Regions from separate parts of the Homo sapiens genome. Here region 1 is linked to region 2. Evidence: promoter capture Hi-C in human tissues and cell types (Jung and others, 2019). All regions are on one chromosome and are shown on one strand. The core of a region is centred on a gene start or on the middle of the fragment in contact, and the rest is flanking DNA. Distances in the headings are between cores, read along the strand shown.

What was found. Contacts are between HindIII fragments. The study calls those that stand out against the background at their distance.
Region 1: a fragment that was not itself captured here is called in contact with the fragment with the promoter of FLVCR2 in region 2 in 1 of the 25 tissues and cell types used here (hippocampus).

The regions. Positions count from the first base shown.
Region 1 is chr14:75,960,850-75,963,349 of GRCh38, forward strand. It overlaps TGFB3 (transforming growth factor beta 3), which reads right to left. Exons shown (of 7, transcript NM_003239.5): 5 at 2,467-2,500; 6 at 74-227. Among named protein-coding and RNA genes, the nearest start is that of TGFB3, 20 kb to the right of the region's middle. The HindIII fragment of the contact is 7,313 bases long and covers 1-2,500 here.
Region 2 is chr14:75,576,047-75,579,966 of GRCh38, forward strand. FLVCR2 (FLVCR choline and putative heme transporter 2) reads left to right here and starts at 2,574. Exons shown (of 10, transcript NM_017791.3): 1 at 2,574-3,595. The coding sequence starts at 2,927. It overlaps FLVCR2-AS1 (FLVCR2 antisense RNA 1), which reads right to left and starts at 3,542. Exons shown (of 3, transcript NR_110552.1): 1 at 1,731-3,542; 2 at 359-499. RefSeq lists an enhancer at 1,680-1,739 and a silencer at 2,450-2,519. The HindIII fragment of the contact is 9,380 bases long and covers 1-3,920 here.

The sequences.
Region 1 (2,500 bases), core at 1-2,500, 380 kb after region 2:
TCACTCATTCTTTTTAACAAGTGGTCTGGTCGGTCAGCCCCAGTGCCTCAGATGGCATGAGCCTGCTCCATACCGTGCTGTGGGTTGTGTCTGCACTGCGGAGGTATGGGCAAGGGCCTGAGCAGAAGTTGGCATAGTAGCCCTTAGGTTCATGGACCCACTTCCAGCCCAGATCCTGTCGGAAGTCAATGTAGAGGGGGCGCACACAGCAGTTCTCCTCCAAGTTGCTACAACAAAAAACATTTATAGAAAATCAACTTAAAACCACCAATAAAAGAAACTTCATGAATGCTCTCATATTCTCCCTTGGAGTCCTTTCATGCCATCATAGGTGGCTCTGATCAATGGAATCCCAGGTTCAAGGGCATGGGGCAGAAGAAACCAGAAAGGCACATTCATGTGTTAAAGACCAGGATCCCAAGGATGTAAGAAACAGAGATAAATGCTGCATGAGGAAGAGTAAAGAGGCAAAGGTGGCCCTGCACCCTTTTCTATCACAATACAAAGCAGTGCTATGAAGCGCTCCACATAAAACCAAGCACTGAATGTTATTAGCCAACTCAGCTTTGTTGAGGTTGGTTTTATTTTTACCCTCCTAATGTGCACCCAGACAGAAATCAATTCTAAGTTTATGCAGCTTGACTACTATAGTAGGTGACTGCTGAGACTCAATCCAAAGGCCATTTAGCCAAATAAGGCATATCCTTCTATTAGAACCGTGGTTCAACAGATCACCCAAATGTGATTATCAGGCCCCTTCAATTCTGTTGCCTACAGAGATCATTTGGCAATAATACCGCTTGCCAAGTGGACAGCTAGCCTCTGCTTTAATATCTGCTGAGACTTAGAACTTGCTACTTCCAAAGGCAGCTATTAGCCAAAATCTGGCTTCTTGTGGGTTCCAAGGGTGAACCATGGCAGACACCATTGGTTATCTATTCAATAACCATTCCTAACTCCCTTCTCCCTTGTGACATCCCATTACAGAGTCGAAAACACCAGATGCTCCTTTTCCTGTCCTCCCTTGAGAGTAGCGGTGGTCATGTGACCCAGTAATGACCCATCAGACAAGGAGAAGTATGCAGGGGGTAAGGGCAAGTTCTGGCAAAGATATTCGATTATTTATAAAAGTGACAGATGGAAGAAGAAAGCTTCTGGCTCTTCCCCTTCCCTCATTCCTTCTTGTCTTAAATGTGGACAAGGTGCCTGAAGCCCTAGCAATCACTTGTGACCATAAGGAAAAGGATGAAAAGCCAACATACTAAGCATGGCAGACTGGAAAGAGAGAAAGCCTGAGTCTTCGGTGGCATCATTAAGCAGCCAGCCCACCCTAACCCTGCTGCTACAGGCCTCTTGTGAACAAGAAATCACTATGATTAAAGTCACTGGCCAAGATCATTCGTTCCTAACTGATTCGTTCCTAACTGATAACTGATTCGTTCCTAACTGATTTGTTCCTAACTGATGGAATAAATAAATCTACATGCCAGCCTTTGTGGCAACTACCTTGCCTCTCCTATACCTTGCTGTTGAGCTGTTCCCCCAACTGAACATCCCTAGTTTCCCAAGCCCAACCATCCTCATAAGACATGGTTTCCAGATCTAAATATTTCCCAATTCGTTCTCCCCAGCTTCATTTCGGCATCCTCTGAGGCCAGATGGACTCACTCACTCATGCTCCTTCCTTTACCTGCAGTGCTTCCCCTCCTGGATCCCTTCATCCCCAAACCTCATCCTTGAAGCCTCTGCTCAAATTCCACACCCTTCTGAAGCCTTTCCTGTGTCCATAGGTGAACTCATTGCTCCCAGTTAAAGCACTTAATCCTTCGGACCCTCTCATGGGCGTGATCATCTTCTCCCTTTTAGTAGTTGGCATGCATACTTTATCCTCCCTTTATAAATGAGCAGTGAAACTGCTCCTGAGTAAGAGAAGCTGGGTCTTTTCTATCTCTCTATTGTGGCTACCCAGTAATTTCTGAATTCATTTGTTAATTTCTCTAGCTCCAACTTTCCGTTCAAATGGAGACCATTCTATTTGCCTCCATCCAGTAGCATCCTTGGACCCTTCATAGGGAACTAACTGAGCACTTCTTTAATGGAAACTCCTACATTAATCTCACACATACACTCTACAAGTGCTTAAAACATGGAAATCATGGAGAGGCTTTGACCAAGCCTCTCCAATCCAAACTATTTTAGCAACACTCCTCCTCACAGAGTTTTCCTCATTTACTTCAGCCAGCTCCTTCCAGAGTTAGCCTATGGAAAAACAGTGGGACTCCCAGGAAAACAGAAAGAGATTTCACAGAGAAAATCTCTGTGAGAGATTTTCAGTCTTCTTCCTGGAGATGTTTGTGAATAGCATCAGGGACCCTCTGTTGAGTGTGGCTTGGCTCTGGGGCCTGACCTAGCCATTGGGCAGTAGGCAGGCAGTAGATGTTGGTTCCCATGTGGGCCCAGTCTCACCGGAAGCAGTAATTGGTGTCCAAAGCCCGCTTCT
Region 2 (3,920 bases), core at 1,324-3,823:
TGGCTAATTTTTGTATTTTTAGTAGAGACGGGGTTTCACCATGTTGGCCAGGGTGGTCTTGAACTCCTGACCTCAAGTGATCCACCCATCTCGGCATCCCGAAGTGCTGAGATTACAAGTGTGAGCCACCGTGCCAGGCTGGAGGCAGGTATTTTTAATCCTTATTTGATAGATTCAGAAACTGAAGAATAGAGAGGTCAAGTGACTTGCTCAAGATACCAAAGCTAAGAATGACAAAACAGAGCTTCAAGTCTAAGCAGACCCAACCCAGATCTCACAACAGATCCAGCTCGTTCCACCACAAAAGCAATTCCAAATCTCACTTGAATCCCAGGTTAGACCCCTTGGAATCTCTCACCAAGCTGAAGGGCTGCCCCAGAAGAGCTCATGGGAAAGGCCACGTGGAAGGAGCACCCATTTTATTGCTGCTTGTTCTGATGCTATTTCACTATAGGACGCTGAGTAACACACCCGCCTCTCCAGGCCTCAGTTTCCTTATCTGTAAAATGAAGTTAAGAATATATTATGAAGAGTTTTGGAAGAGGCCCATGATGACCGAGGGAAAAGAAGCAGTGAGAGGTCTCAGAAGGCCTTCTAAAAGAACAGAGTTCTGTGCTCCCTGGAGAATGATGGGAAACACAGGAGGAATAGTGACAATACGAGATGTTAAATTACTGTAGAAATTCTTAGATCTGAGTCTGAACTCCCTCTCCAAATATTCCATTATAATCCAAGACTCTATAGTTTCTACCAAAAAGTAGGTGCCTTCAAGCAGGGAGTGATCATTTGAATCTAGTTCTCTCCTGGGAATCAGTGGTTCTAACTTGGCTGCACGTTTGGATGACCAGCGGAGCTTGTGACATGCAGATGTTCAGGTCCACCCTCGGAGATCGCTAAATGGGGTGTTGCCCGAACACTTGGGATATTAAGAGTTTCTTCATATGATTCTAATGTGCAGACAAAATGGAGAGCCACTTCCCAGAGCTTCAAGTTATTCATTTTCTGGTCTGAAGTTTAACAAAGAAAAAAAAAATAAAGAAGCAGTGATGCCCAGTAGCTCTCAAAATTTAATGTGTAAACAAATGAATCTCCTGGGCATCTTGTTAAAATGCAGCTTTCAATTCAGTGGGTCTAGGTTGGGCCTGACAACCTTCTTGGTTGTTTTGTGGTTGCCGTTTTGTTTTTTAAGGCCTTAACACTGGAGGGGATTCTGGCCTTCTAAAAAGCTCCCACAGGTGCCCACGCTGCTAACCACAGACTGTGCTTGAATAGCTAGGCTACAGCTTGAATGATTACAGACTTGAACGAGAATTATGGCTCTTCTTGCCAGCTGGGACCTTCAGAAAGAAGTTACTTCACTTCTCTGAGTCTGGGTTTTCTTGTCTATAAAATTTAGGCCAGCAATAGTAACTTTATCACAGAATTCTTGTGATGCATAAATGAGCTAATGCATTCAATTTGTTTAGCACTGTACAACAAATGTTAGCTTTTTGCTAGGATAGCCAGCATTCGCGGAATGCTTACTATGTGGCAGGAATTTTCTAAGTGCATTCGTGTATTAATTCATTCAAGTCTCAGAACAACACGGTGAGGTAGGTACTATTATTTCATCATTTCCATTTTACAGATGAAGAAACTGAAGCGCAGAGAGGTGGAGTTCCTTGGTCTACAGTGGCACCTCATTGTAGCTAAGCTGGTGTTTGAACTCAGGGAGAATTTGGGCTCCTTACCAGGATCCCTCGCCAAGGACAGAGGTCAGTGCAACGAGTCGAGGGTTTGCCCTTTGAAATGGGCTAGGACCGGCAGGTGGCAGACTAGGGCTGCTTGAGTTCAAAGACCGCTTCCAAGACCAAGCCCGGAGCCAGCTCTGTGCTAAGCGTTCCATCACACAACCGCGGACAGCTTCTTCGGCTTCTTCAAACTCTCCTTTCCCTCCCCCGCACCCTAGGGTCTTCGCCCAGAATCCATCAGGAAAAATAGCCCCACATAACAGGTTCAAATCTAACCTCCCCAAGACAAAACCACGTCCGCAGGGAAAGAAGCGAGTAAAGCGAGTTTTCTGTAACTCCCCTTTAACCCAGGAGCGCAACCAGCCCGGGAAATCTACAAATCTCTCTTTAGTTCAGCAAAGGGCTGGGAGCCTAAGCCAAGGGGGAGAAAGTTGGGGAATCCCTCTTGAATTCCCCAGAACACTTAGGTGGCGCCGGGCTTTGGTGCACGCGCGCAGGGCATGCGGACAGGCACCGGAGAGGCTCTATTTTGGGCATTACTTCGGGAAGGCGGATCTTCTTGCAGGGTCCGCTGATAGCGGGTGGCAAATGAATATGAGGGGCAGTGCAAAGGGTGGGGGTTAACCGGGCGGTTTCCATGGCGCCCGGGGCGTGGGGGAGGAATGCATCCCGCAAGCTGTGGCGAAACAACTGCTCTGCCCGGAGGACCGGGCTCGAGAAGGCAAGAGACACTGGGTCGGGGGTGGAGTGGTGGCGGGGGGGTTGGGGGCGGAAGAAGCCAGGCAGGACGGGGGCGGGGCGGTCACGTGTGCCCGACTGGGCGAGGCCCCAAGCTGGCCCGGGAGAGGACTCTGCGGGCGAAGTGGCTGCGCAAGGAGAGAACTTTTCCTGCACAAGGAACGCCTCGTGGGGAGACCCAAGGCAGGAGCGGTCCGGAGCCGGCTGCGGCGTGTGCGGCCGGCCTTGGGACAGCGATCGCCGCGGGTGGCAACAGAGAGCCCCAAGCAAAAGTGGGAGCAGGAGCTTGGAGGTGAGCACAGGAAGCCCCACTTGAGGCTTTTACGCAGCCTCTAGTCTCTGTTTCTTCTGGAATAGGCAAGTGTCCTTTCAACTCTAAGAGACCAGCAGAGGCCACTGTCCCTTAAGACTGCCGGAGTCCTCACCACTTCTCCAGGATTCCAGAGGAGACTGTGGCGATGGTGAATGAAGGTCCCAACCAGGAAGAGAGCGATGACACCCCTGTGCCGGAGTCCGCACTCCAAGCGGACCCCAGCGTCTCGGTCCATCCCAGCGTCTCGGTCCATCCCAGCGTCTCCATCAACCCCAGCGTCTCTGTCCACCCCAGCAGTTCGGCCCACCCCAGTGCCTTAGCCCAACCCAGTGGCTTGGCTCACCCCAGTAGCTCGGGCCCTGAGGACCTCAGCGTGATCAAGGTGAGCAGGCGCCGTTGGGCCGTGGTCCTGGTGTTTAGCTGCTACTCCATGTGCAACTCCTTTCAGTGGATCCAGTACGGCTCCATCAATAACATCTTCATGCACTTCTACGGTGTCAGTGCCTTTGCCATTGACTGGCTGTCCATGTGCTACATGCTGACTTACATCCCTCTGCTCCTGCCAGTGGCTTGGCTGCTGGAGAAGTTCGGCCTGCGCACCATTGCTCTCACTGGCTCGGCTCTCAACTGCCTGGGGGCCTGGGTGAAGCTGGGCAGCCTGAAGCCGCATCTCTTTCCGGTCACCGTGGTGGGCCAGCTCATCTGCTCTGTGGCCCAGGTTTTCATCCTGGGCATGCCCTCCCGCATCGCTTCCGTCTGGTTCGGGGCTAATGAGGTTTCAACAGCCTGCTCCGTGGCTGTCTTTGGCAATCAGGTAGGTAGAACAGTTTGTGAATGTTCCCAGGGGCGTGTGTTAGATTGCACCTAACTATTGGGTGTGGTAGGCTATAATTTGCTGATTGTCCAACAGTGTTTGTGACTCTGGGTGACAGTAACTGGGTGTGACAGGCAGTGATTGTGATGCTGTAAGAGAGGCGGGAAACAAAAGCAGGGGGACCTGCTCTTTCATCCACAGTTGCTCTTGCCCCAGCCAAAAGCATGCTTCTAGAACATACTATACCTTCGCTGTGTCGTTCTCGAACCTGTGTCAGTCCACCAACTTAGACCTGTAATTTCAGGAATGCTCTTCTGTCTGGCAG